Linked DNA regions of Homo sapiens: region 1 is linked to region 2. Evidence: promoter capture Hi-C in human tissues and cell types (Jung and others, 2019). All regions are on one chromosome and are shown on one strand. The core of a region is centred on a gene start or on the middle of the fragment in contact, and the rest is flanking DNA. Distances in the headings are between cores, read along the strand shown.

Region 1 (6,701 bases), core at 2,662-5,161, 40 kb before region 2:
ATGGTAAATGCAAGTATCAGTTTTGCAAATTCAGTATGAGAATATCTCCTTTCACTTAAATACCGTACAACAAAACAAGAACAAAGTAAAGCACACAATAATTTCTTTTCAGCTATTTAAAAGAGCATCATCACACATTTCCAAGATTGGTTTCTAGATACAGTACTGACAGCTGATTAGGTAACTTTCACCACAAAAATCTTCAAACCAGTGAAACACTTGCACATATGTTGTTTTCAAGTACACACATGAGGACCCATCAGTGATAAATGGCTTTGGGTCAAAGATAACTGGAAAGTCTCACTTTTTTTTTTTTAACCACTTAATCAAAGTGAATATCACTTAATTGTAATTAATTTGAAAAAAATTCCAATCAATATAATTTACTTAAGGATAAGGCCAATCTTTCCTTAGCATTAAGTTTATAGCCGTATCACAGTTTTCCCTCATTACAGGAAAAGATGTAAAACCAACTCAAATTGTTGATTGAATTGAATTACCTTGGAAATTATTCTCACCTACTTTTTCCAGTAAAATAAATAGTATACTATTTCTGCTTAGAACTTGTAAAAATAAGTCTTGTATTTTTTGGCCAGGATCTTTAAATCTCTCATAGTTCTCAAGATCATCAGGGGTAAGCAAAACCAATCAAATGTTAAATGGCTGGTGTTTATTAATTTTTGGAGGCTTGACAAAGGTAGCCTAGGAATTCTGGATAAACAGAACAAATGATGACTCGTTAGAAATGCATAGGAAACAAAATGTCTATTCAAAGAACCAAATAAAAGCCTTCAATTGCAAACTAAAAACATCAATAGTTTTATAGAGATGTATACATAAGTAAAACCCAAAAGAGAATAAACAACAATAATTGAAAATTAGAAGCAAAAATAAACAGGAAACCAACCCCAAATTTTTATCCTACTCAGTTTACCTTGGAGGCTAAAGTGTTACCTAGAGGTTAAAAAAACACACACACGGCCAGGCACGGTGGTTCATGCCTGTAATCCCAGCACTTTGGGAGACCAAGCCTGGCAGATCACCTGAGGTCAGGAATTCCAGACAAGCCTGGCCAACATAGTGAAACCCCACCTCTCAGAAAAATACAAGGCATGGTGGCACGTGCCTGTAATCTCAGCTACTTGGGAGGCTGAGGCAGAAAAATTGCTTGAACCTGGGAGGCAGAGTTTGCAGTGAGCCAAGATTGCACCATTGCACTCCAGCCTGGGTGACAGAGCAAGACTCCCTCTCAAAAAAAAAAAAAAACAAAAAACAAACCCGTGCACACAACATATATTTTATTCCTGGTGCACAGATTAACGTCTTCAAGTCAACTGATAGCACTATACATTTTTTGAAATTAAGAAATTCATCTAGGTACATGACCCGTACAAGTACCTTAGTACCAGTACTATCTATGCAAAATAGCAAATATACTGTGAAGCAATGCAAGCATGTATGTGAAATTTGGCTCCATGCTAAATCTGGCTTCACAGTTAATTGTATTAAAAAAGAATTGCCAAACTGACAGTATATTTCTTTATAATATTTATTTTATCTTCATCAAAACTAAGAGCTTTAACTATGAGCAATGTTAATCAGTCAAATTTTTCCAATTTTCTATCAGGTTTTAAGGGATATTTTACTATCTAAACTTTTTCAACTTTCTATTTTCTCTGTGTGTGCATAAAGATAGAAACACAGAGAACCAGGAAAAAGCAACATATGACTTACATAGACCATCTATGATACTTTTGGACTTCTTATTTTGTCCTAAATTTTATTTTCTTTTTTAAATAACTAGTCATTTTATTTTAGGACAAAAATTCACCATACAAGATCTTTCTCATACAATATTTTTCTCTTTTCTTTATAACCTTTCTCACACAATATTTTTCTCTTTTCTTTATAACCTTTCTCACCAAAAATACGTTGTCACATTCATAACTTTCTTCATATCTCTCTCCCCTATTTACTGGTTCCTTTCTACCTTGTTTCATAAATAACATTTTCAAGTCCATAGTTTGAATTAACATTCAGATAACTCCTGAATTAGACAAAATTATTCTTTTTCTCACTAAGAACACACATTTTTGGGTAGCTTTTATATACAGAATTAATATAATTCTTATACTTAGTAACCCTAAATTTTAGTGAAATACTATGAGGCAAGAAACCCTCAACTGCCTACCAGATATTAGCATTTTATAAATGAGAACAATTCTATAATTTTTAGAAATATATTTCCCGATATCATAACCCTTCCTTAATTGGAAATGACTCAGGCATCCAATAAGCATTGAAAATAACTTTTAAGATTATAAGTTACACAAAAACTTCACCTATAGCACTTACTCACATTTTTTATTTATTTTTGGCAGTTTATCTCGATTACTTATGCATTATTTATTTCCTTGTTAACCATTTTATAACCTGTGAATATCAGGTGTTTACCTAAATAAGAACTTTAAGTTAACTACAAGGGCATTTTCACCAGTAACTCAGAAGATTCAGCTGTTTTCATTAAACCAATAACATTAAATTAGTCTTACTTATTAAAAAATTCCTACAAAGATCATTTTGTTCTGGCTAGGTTTATCATTTTATAACCTGTGCCAAACCCTGATACCTCAAAATATCTAGCAGAGACAAATATAAAGCCCAAACAAAAATATATGTTAACAATTCTTAAGACATTCCTATTTTTATTTTATTAATATTTTTAAAGCCAGTTCATTTATTAAAGATTTACTTAAGTCATGTGAACTTGAAAAATACTTTGGGCTTACTTAATTTATGAGTTCTGTTTTGTTTACAAGCCAATTTGTTAGACAAAAAGACATAGCATAATAAATGTACATACATAAACACATCTAGACATGCATATGCACACATACAAAGTCATTGGTTTACGTGGTTACACTTTATTTGCCCCATATGTAATCCAACATAGGGTGTGAACCAAAATTTTGGGTAAAGCAGTTTCCATAGCAGTTTGATTTTTAAAGGCCAAACCTCCTCAGACTCCAAGGAACACTGGGGCCAAACAGCACCACAGAAAACCACCTGGAACCTATTAACCAGGCCCAACCTGCTCAGAACAGCAACATAAAAGCCTGGATACAGGAAACTCCATCCCACTTTCTCATTCAACAGCAAACTCCGATTCCAAACAATATTGGGGACAAGCATTATTACAAAAGAATATCAGTTTATGTAATTCTAATTTCCCATGATACACACACAATCACCAAAACACAGTCTGACCACTGCAGCAATAAACAAGCCCCAAGAGTGTCCAAATTGAAACAGCCGGGGTCCTTCCTCTCTCCACTGGTTGGGCTTAATCAACCTGCAAACAAAAATTCCTTAGGAATTTCCCAAATTGAGAGGAGCACATCCTGCTATCTGGTACCCACAAAAGACACTCACTTGCCTGGACACACACACAAACAATTACAAACAAGCCCCCAAGAGTGTCCGTAGTGAAACAGGGTGCTTCCCTCACTGTCAGTTGGGCTTGTTCAACCTGCAAATGGAAATTCTTTCAAAAATTTCCCAAATTGAGAGGAGCATCTCCTGCTGTCTGGGCCCACAAAGGACACTCACCTATCGGGATGCAGATGTCAAATTTCAAAGACAGTTCTTCATAGGCAATCAGGAACACAGTTGAGACCAGCTGTAGTGGGGCCAGAGACAGACTGAAACTTATCTCCAACCAAAACTGAGTGGGCAGCTGCTTAGGAGGGCTTTTGAGACTCCTGGCCCATGGCAGCTGAGCAATGAGCAACTGTGGCAACACGTTGCTGGTTAGGGAACCAAAATCTGTTACTGAAATACCAGGAGTTTCGTCTAGGTCCCGTTGCTCATGGCACAGAAAACCAATGACTGAGACAATTATTGCCAATGAAGAAGGCTTTAATCAGGTGCTGCAACTGAGGAGATAGGAGCTTAGTCTCAAATCCATCTCCCTGACTGACTAAAAGGAGATGTTTACATAGCAGAGAAGAAATGTAACAATGTGTAAGAAAACAGGAACTATGGGGCCAGGCATGGTGGCTCACGCCTGTAATCCCGACACTTTGGGAGGCCTAGGTGGGCAGATCAGGAGGTCAGGAGTTTGAGACCAGCCTGACCAACATGGTGAAACCCCATCTCTACCAAAAACACAAAAATTAGCGGGCTGTGGTGGTGAGCACCTGTAATCCCAGCTACTCAGGAGGCTGAGGCGGGAGAATCACTTGAACCTGGGAGGAAGAGGTTGCAGTGAGCCGAGATCACACCACTGCACTCCAGCCTGTCGACAGAGTGAGACTCCGTCTCAAAAGAAAAAGAAAACAGGAACTATGGAGGGGCAAGGAGGCAATCATGATGAATGAAGGGTCTGGCATCTCATTATCTGGATGCGGTGATATGGTGAGTTTCTGGTGGTTGATAATTTTTTTGAGAGGCCTGAAGGTCTTTCCTGAGGAAGAAACTCAGGTAAAACAAATACAAGTTTTAAGCTTTAAAACCAGAAGCTTTTTTCATCAAAAAAGCTCTCTATGGGACTATTGGGTCAGTTTCATTATGAGAAATTAGTTAGTGGGTACCATGTATATTATTCAGGTGGTATATATCATAAAAACCCTGACTTCACCATTATGCAATATATGCACGTAACAAAACTATACTTGTACACATACATTTATATAATTTTTTAAAGAAAACCTAAACCTAACATTCTTAAGGGTAAGAAACTGGATGTGTTTCCCCTAAGAATAGGAGCACGTCAAGGATGTCCTCTGTCACCATTCCTATTCAACATTGTACTGAACATCCAGCTGTTGCAATAAAACAAAAAAAAAAGGAAATAAAAGGTATAAAGATTGGGAAAGAAGAGATAAAAATATCTTTGCAGATGACATGGTTCTCACAGTATAAAATCTCAAAGAATGCACAAAAAAACTCCTATAATTTATATAGCAAGCCTGCAGAAGGCAAGGCTAATATACAAAAGACTTGGCTCTTCTAAATACCAGCAATGGCCAGGTGCAGTGGCTCACACCTGTAATCCCAGCACTTTGGGAGGCCAAGTAGGGTGGATCACCTGATGTCAGGAGTTCGAGACCATCCTGACCAACGTGGTGAAACCCCGTCTACTAAAAATACAAAAAATTAGCTGGGCATGAGGGCAGGCACCTGTAATCCCAGCTACTCCAGAGGCTGATACAGGAGAATCACTTGAACCCAGGAGGCAGAGGTTGCAGTGAGCCAGGATCACGCCACTGCACTCCAGCCTGGCAACAGAGTGAGACTCTGTCTAAAAGAAAAAGAAAAAAAAAACAGCAATGAACACTTGAAATTTGAAATTGAAAACAAGACCATTTACATTAGCACCAAAAAATTTTAAATGCCTGAGCATCAATTTCATAAAATATATACAGAATTTATCTAAGGAAAACTATAAAACTCTATAAAAGAAATCAACGAAGACCTAAATGAATGGAGCAATATTCCATGTTTAAGGATAAGAAGACTCAATATTGTCAAGATGGCAATTCTTAACTTGATCTATAGCTATAATGCAATCCCAATCAAAACCCAGCAATTTATTTTGTGAATATCAACAAACTGATTCTAAAGCTTATTTGGAAAGACAAAAGACCTAGAATAACCAACAAAAAACTGAAGAAGAACAAAGTCAGGGGCCTAGCATTACCAAACTTTAAGACTTTATATAAAGTTACAGTAATCAAGATAGTGTGACACTGGTGAAAGTATACTAGCAGAACATAACAGAGAGCCCAGAAATAGACTTGCACTAATATAGTCAACTGATTTTTGTCAAAGACGTATAGGTAATTAAATGGATAAAGGATATTTTCAACAAGTGGTGCTAGAACAATTGTACATCTACATGCAAAAGAGGAATCTATACACAGATCTTACACCTTTCACAAAAAACTCAAAATGCATCTTAAATCTAAATGCAAAATGCAAATGTACAAAACTTCTAGCAAGTAACACCGGAGAAAATCTAGATGGCCTTGGATTTTTTATGAGTTTTTATTATTTTTGTTTTTCTTTAATTTTTGCCTTCTTTTTCTGATACCTAGGTAGGACCCCAAACTGAGGAGTTTTTGATACAATACTGTGAAAGAAAAAAGTAATAAATTAGACTTTATTACAATTTAAAACTTTTGCGCTACAAAAAAAAACCTTGTTAAAAGAATGAATAGACAAGCCAGATACAGGGAGAAAATATTTGAAAAAAATTTTGGATATAGGACTTATATCCAAAATATACAAAGAACTCTTAGAACTCAATGATAAGAAAACAATCCAATTTAGAAAATGGACAAAATATCTAAACAGACACTTCACCACAGATGATAGACAGATTCGAAATTGCATATGAAAAGATGCTCAACATCATATGTCATTATAGAATTACAAATTAAAATGTCAATGAGGTACCCCATGCACGTATTAGAATGGATACATTTTTTAGAACCTGACATCAAATGCTAACGTGAATGTGGATGTCTAGCAATGAGAATGCTCATTCATTGATGATGGAAGTGCAAAATGATCCAGCCACTTTGGAAGACAGTTTTACAGTTTATTACAAAGCTAAACATAGTCTTATTGTTACAAGATCTTTGGGGGGTCTCTTTTCTGGCTGGAAACCTGTGGCCAGTGGTGCCTTTGCCCAAGTT
Region 2 (6,307 bases), core at 2,933-5,432:
TCCCTGAGTTCTGTGAGGTGCTTCAGTAAACCAATCAAACCCAAAGAGGAGGTCTTGGGAACCCCAACTCAAAGCTGGTCAGTCAAAAGTTCTGGAGGGCCGGACTTGTGACTGGTATCTAAGGAGGGAAGCATGATTCTTGGGTTGTGGGCCCCAAAGTGGCAGGCTCTGACACCATCTTCAGGTAGACAGTGTCAGAATTCAATTGGAGGACACCCAGTTGGTATCTGCTGCAGAAGTGATTGCTTGCTTTGTGGTGGAAAGGAATCCTCAGGAAATGCAGAAGTCTTCTGTGTTGATTGTTGTGGTGTGAGAACAGAGGAAAACCGGTTTGAGAGTTTTTCCCGAACAGTAACTATAATGTATTGAGAAAATGGGACACCACTGGGAGTGAACAGAGGTGCTGTGAATATTCATGCTGGGATAACAGGGCTCTCTTGGCTGAACCAGGAAGTATAGTCCCCTTATTCTGTGGGAAATGCTATTTTCTATTATTATCACTTAAAATGGAAAAAGTCTAAATCTGTATTATCAAGAGCTTATTTTAAAATTTCAAAAGTTTTCAGTTGATGAAGGGTTGAGGAGAAAAGTCAATAGTAGAGTTATGGAGAAAAAATTCTGGAAAATATACATGTCAGAATTCAAACCAAATTCCGGAGCCCTGAGGTCCACATCCTTCTGCATTGTCTATGAATCATTACTGAAAAGCTGTGTTCTGTAGGGGAAGATAGCTCAACCAGCTTAGAGCTGTTGATTCTGCAGTCAACTTCTGATTCCTTCCGTGGGTCTTACACTCGAATTTTCCAGCAGAGAGATTAATTGACCAGTGACTATCAAGAGGAGGCTGACTCTTTTGAGCTGCCACCCCATGCCATTGGCATGGCTGGCATCCACTTCTGGCCTGACCAGCAGGGGCCACAATGGTAGGGTCCTTGGCAGAGCACATGGCTGCCCCATGGAAGGAGCTGCCATCACAGTGGTTAAAGGCTTAAACTCTAATTGGACAGACCTGAGCTCAAAATTTGTCTCTGCCACTATAAGGTTTGGGCTTTAGGCAAATTAGCTAACTTCTCTAAGGCTGTTTGCTTATCTGCTTAATGTGGATAATTATGTATCATGAGACTGATATAAGGATAAAACTAAACCAGGTGTGGAATACACATAACATGGCACCTGGCACATAAAAAGCCCTTAACAATCATTCCAAGAGCCTCATCCCTCCTCAGGGCCGTGGGCACGGTCAGCTTCCCGTGAGGAATAGTCTCCTCTTCTGCCACTTGTTAAGGCTGTAAGGAGAGGGTGTGGGGATTTGGTGATTTTGAATCTGATCTCTTAATGTGTATTCACATCAGAACACAAGAATATGCTGCGTTTGTTTGTATGTTTGTTTGAAAGATTATAGTTTGAAATACTCTGCTGTATCTATAAAGGAAATCCAAGTTAAACTACCTGAACAGTAGTGATTTTGTTAACCTTCCCTGTATCTGACAGTGTGCTGGGTGACAGAAGACCCCTCAGGAGCCCCCAGCTCTACCCCAGCCTCCACCACTCTCCACCACTTATTAGGTGGGTGGACCAGGACAGTCATTTAACCTCTCTGAGCTTCATCTCCTCATCTTCAAAGTATGATAATGAATACTAATTATGTCACCAAGTGGCTGCAAGTTTTAAATATAATGCTGAATGGGTTTTTGTTGTTGTTTTTTGTTTTTTTGCTGGGGGGCTAGGGACTGGCATATAGGTCCTCAATAAATATTAGGTTTGTTTTCCTTTTCTTTTCAAACTCCTTTTGGGTTTAAGTTTCTGTGGTATTATGATGTCTGTCTATCTGTCTGTCTATCTATCTATCTATCTATCTATCTATCTATCTATCTATCTATCTATCTTGGTTTTCTTCCATGGTTCCTGGCTCATAACTCCCATAGCCCTTGTTACAGTCTTTTGTTATGTTAGGTATGTTAGGCTTCAGGAAACCGAATCTCTCTGGCCTTCTGCCCTCCTTTCACCTGCTTTAAGGCAGGACTCTAATCTTCCCCCGCCTTTCTTTCTTTTTTTTTTTCTTTAAGATGGAGTTTTGCTCTTGTTGCCCAGGCTGGAGTGCAATGGCTCGATCTTGGCTCACCGCAACCTCCGCCTCCCGGGTTCAAGCGATTCTCCTGCCTCAGCCTCCCTAGAAGCTGGGATTATAGGCATGTGCCACCACGCCCGGCTAATTTTGTATTTTTAATAGAGATGGGGTTTCTCCATGTTGGTCAGGCTGGTCTCAAACTCCCGACCTCAGGTGATCCGCCCACCTCGGCCTCCCAAGGCGTGAGCTGGGATTACAGGCGTGAGCCACCGTGCCCAGCCGCTTCCCCCGCCTTTCTGATTATAGGTCTTAAGACCCTCCCAAGAGAGGGTCCTCCCCTATACCCTGGGGGAAGCAATGCTGACATCACGAAGCTTCCATAAAAGCCCAAGAGGACTGGATTCGGGGAGCTTCGGGATAGCTGAACACGTGGAGGTTACTGAAGAGTGGTGCATCCAGGGAAGGCATGGAAGCCCCACGCCCCTTCCTCCACACCTCATCCTACGTGTCTCTTTATCTGCATCCATTGCAGTATCCTTTATAATAGACCAGTAAATGTGTTTCTCTGAGTTCTATGAACCACTTTAGCAAATTAGCTGAACCCAAAGAGGGTGTCGTGGGAACTCAACTTGAAGCCAGTCATTCCAAAATTCTGGAGGCCTAGACTTACAACTGGTGTTTAAAGGTGAGGAGGCAGTCTTGGGGACTGAGCCCTCCACTTGTGGGATCTGATACTCCAGGTAGATAGTGTCGGAATTGAATTGGAGGACACCCAGGTGCGGTCCACTGCTCAGTGTGTGGGGAAAACCCCACACACATCTGGTCACCAAATTATTCTCCTGTGTTGATGATTGCTGTTGTGTAAGAGTAGAGGAAAAATACGGTTTGAGGGAGGTTTTTTTTTCCCCACACAGTTTCAAACAAGGATATTGGACCAGATGACCAACATTAAAATCTCTCTCATCCTTAATATTGCATGAAGCTGTTCAGACAGTGGTTGGAGCAATGATTTCTCTTAGACCACTACATTGATTACTTTTCTCTTTGTCATCTTCTCACTCCCCCCGTTTTCTTTCTGTTCTCCTTTCTGTTAACAAGAGTGGAAATCACTTCTATTCATGTACCTCCTCCCAACCCCACCCCCAAACTGACTACTCCATCCATCCAACTCACTGTTTTAGCTACATCTAATTTATAAAATTAGATGGCTAATGAGATGTCATAGCCTAAAATCGACTAAGAAATTGATTTTCTTTCTGTATTATTGTACCCAGACAACACCCTGCTTCCTCAGTTTAGAATGTTGGGCCACCACGGTTCCTGACTGGATACCACGAGCTAGGTCCTACAAGGGAGAGAGCTGTTTCTGGCTTAAATGATGAGAACTAGGGCAGAGAGTAAAGGATAGCCAGCCACAGCTAAGGAATGCAGTCAGTTAGAAGCCAAAGTCCCCGTGTAGTGTTCCTCTTTTCTACTGTGCCCATAGCGGACACTGATTGAATGCATTTTGTTCTATCGTATTCAGTTCCACAGTGCTTTGCAACACCCATCTTATAAATAGAAGTTGGGCTGAGGATGGGGCCAAAGTTAGGGGTGGTAGTTCATAAACACGTAGTTTTTGAGCACTAATTTTAAGTAAGACCCTGATATTAAGAAATAAGGGGGATTAAAAGATGGGAAATTAGGCCCACCAATACATGTTTTTCTATTTCCCAATATATCAAAATATTATCATTTTAACATGCAATCACTAAAAATTAATGAGCTAGTTAACATTCTTCGGACTCTTTGGTACCTAGGTGTATTTCACACTTACAGCACGTGCACGATTCAACTCGAACTAGCTACCTTTGGAGTGCTCCTTAGCCACACAAGAACAGCGTTGTTGTCAAGATGCCAGACCTTTGATTTGTGGCCCTCCGGGGTTGCAGGCGTTAACCTGGGGCCAGCATGGGTCGCGGGTGGGACAGTCGGTCCGGGGACTGGGCGGTGGGAGCACTTAAACCCCGCCCTGCGGAGTCGCCGGGAGTTGTAGTCGGAGCCCCGGGAGTCCGATGGGAGTTGCAGGCCTCAGCCCCGGGGAGCACGCCGGGAGTTGTAGTCCGCCCCCGCCACCCTCTTGGTGTGCGCGTCATGGCCGTCAGCACCGCGTTCCCGTCCTCTTCCGCTTGGCCCCAGAAAGTTTCGGTTCTGCCCGGCGGTGGACCCACGAGCGCGTAAGTGCCGCGGAAGACCGGCTGGACTCTGGGGGCACCTGGGTCGCTCACGATCCCTGAGGCGAGAGCTTCGCTCGGGGCGCGGCTTGTCACCTGTTGCCCTTACAGTCCCCGCCCATCCCAGGTCTCCCTCAGACCCTGCCCGAGCGCCCCCGTCCTTGCCCAGCGGGCCGGGAAGCACCTCGGGCAGGTGGAAGCCGGCCCAGGCACCCAGCCTGCCTCTGTTGGTCGGTTAGAAAGACAGACCCCAAACACCAGTTCCAAGACCCCGGAGGGCGGAGGGCCCGCAAAGGAAAGGAGCCCACCATGCGGCGTCTCAGAACAAGCCTGAATGTCTTAGCGCAGGATGGGGCAGGCCCCGGAGTTCCTGCCTGCGTGGTCTTTAGGAAGTTTAGTCTCTGGCCCAGTTGGGCCGGGACAGCCCAGACCTTCACTTTGCAAGACTCCGCTGGTGCTCGGATCTCTGCCCTCTTCCCAGGAGGGGAAGAAGCTTCTTTCTTCCTGGCCCATCCTTTGGCCAAGACCTATTCACTATCCACTGCCCCTTGTGCCCATGCGCAGGGTCTCGAGCTAGCCCCCAGGGGTCTTTTCCCGAAACACCTGTTGTCTCTGGTGTGGCGGCACTGCACTGGACTGGAGTCCGTGCTGTTGAAACCTGGCGGGGGTGGGGCGGGGAGGGGGGAGGATGGCGGGATTTTATTTTTTGTAAGAAAAGCACATGTGGTTGACACGTTAACCGCGTGGCCCCCTGTTAAAGCACATGTATTCTCTGATGTCCCTGTCACTCTTCACTGTTCCCATTGGGTGTCCTCTCCAGAAAAAAAAATAGAACACTTGTTGAAACTGCCTGTGTTGGCCAGAGCCTCTCAGCCCCTCTGCTTGTCTTACCACAGCAGTTTCCTTTCCCGACAGAGAAATGGGTCAGGGGCTTTTGCGGGGCAGAGGATCCAGGGCTTAATCTGCTCACTGGTTCTCCTGCCCGTGCAGGCCTTGTGGTCTCAGGCTGCAAGCTTAATTCCCCTGCCATCTGCCTAATGCGGCTGGAGGGTGTTGGGGGCTGGTGTGGGGGAGGGGTGGGGAGCTGGAGCTATCATGCCAAGGTTTTCTGCTTTCAGTAGTTCCCACCTTCTGAAGTGGACCCCTGTTGAGTGAGCTCCACTTGACCCTCCCTTCTGTGACAACCACTGTTCTGAAAGCATTGAATGCCCCATACTAGTTGTGCACCGTGGTTATTATCACCCTGAAAATAAGAGCTAATTGTCACAGTGATGGATCTCAGCCTCCTTTGATTAATAGGATCTCTCCTAAAGGCTCTTGCTTTAGGAAATAGAGTTTATCTGTTTATGTTCAAAGTGACTATCTTTGTGTAGCACTTCATTTACTTTTTAAATTGTTTTTAATATTTTATTAGAAAAATAAACATACAGAATCACTGAAAGGATTGTATGGTGAATATCCGTATACTCAATTCTTAATATTTTACTTTGATTTTTTTTTTTTTTTGCAGTTACTTTAGAGATTGGTAACAGTCTCAGGCAGTGATCCTTTAGCTGTTGTTCCGATGACCTTTGCCCCTTGGGGCTGGGTTTGGAGCACCAGTATAATTTCAGGAGCCAAGTTTTTAACCTGGTCCTTTTTGAGGGGGATGGCCCCCATAGATGTTTGTGATGAGAGGAATCACCCATAACAGAGCAAGATCAGAGCAGCTGGTAGCTTTGACCCATATTGGTCACCAAGGCTATGGACTGCTGACTCAAGAATACAAAGTAGGTACGCAAGAAATGGCAGCCCCCTCACCCCCACCCACCCTGCTTCCCTTTAGGGGAGATGTTTAGCTGATAGGTAACTTTTGTTTACTGAAGATTCCAAAGACACAGCTTTGGTGACTCAAGACTAGAATGTCTTTAAACATGAGGCAGAGGAAGTGTGTTGTCTAGCTGTGGTCTTATGGTGGAAATCACTGGTAGGCACCTAGATTTAGGAACCACGTTCACTGCAAGCAGCCCTAGGCAGCAGGTAAGGG

Evidence for each region. Contacts are between HindIII fragments. The study calls those that stand out against the background at their distance.
Region 1: a contact is called between a fragment that was not itself captured here and the fragment with the promoter of FYCO1 in region 2, in 1 of the 25 tissues and cell types used here (H1 embryonic stem cells).

Annotation. Positions count from the first base shown.
Region 1 is chr3:46,032,596-46,039,296 of GRCh38, reverse strand. It overlaps a transcript of XCR1 not described here. Among named protein-coding and RNA genes, the nearest start is that of XCR1, 8.5 kb to the right of the region's middle. The HindIII fragment of the contact is 5,711 bases long and covers 1,056-6,701 here.
Region 2 is chr3:45,993,699-46,000,005 of GRCh38, reverse strand. FYCO1 (FYVE and coiled-coil domain autophagy adaptor 1) reads left to right here and starts at 4,182. Exons shown (of 18, transcript NM_024513.4): 1 at 4,182-4,284. LOC105377063 (a long non-coding RNA gene) reads right to left here and starts at 4,103. Exons shown (of 3, transcript XR_940799.3): 1 at 3,917-4,103. RefSeq lists enhancers at 4,154-4,313, 4,334-4,383, 3,884-4,383. The HindIII fragment of the contact is 4,281 bases long and covers 754-5,034 here.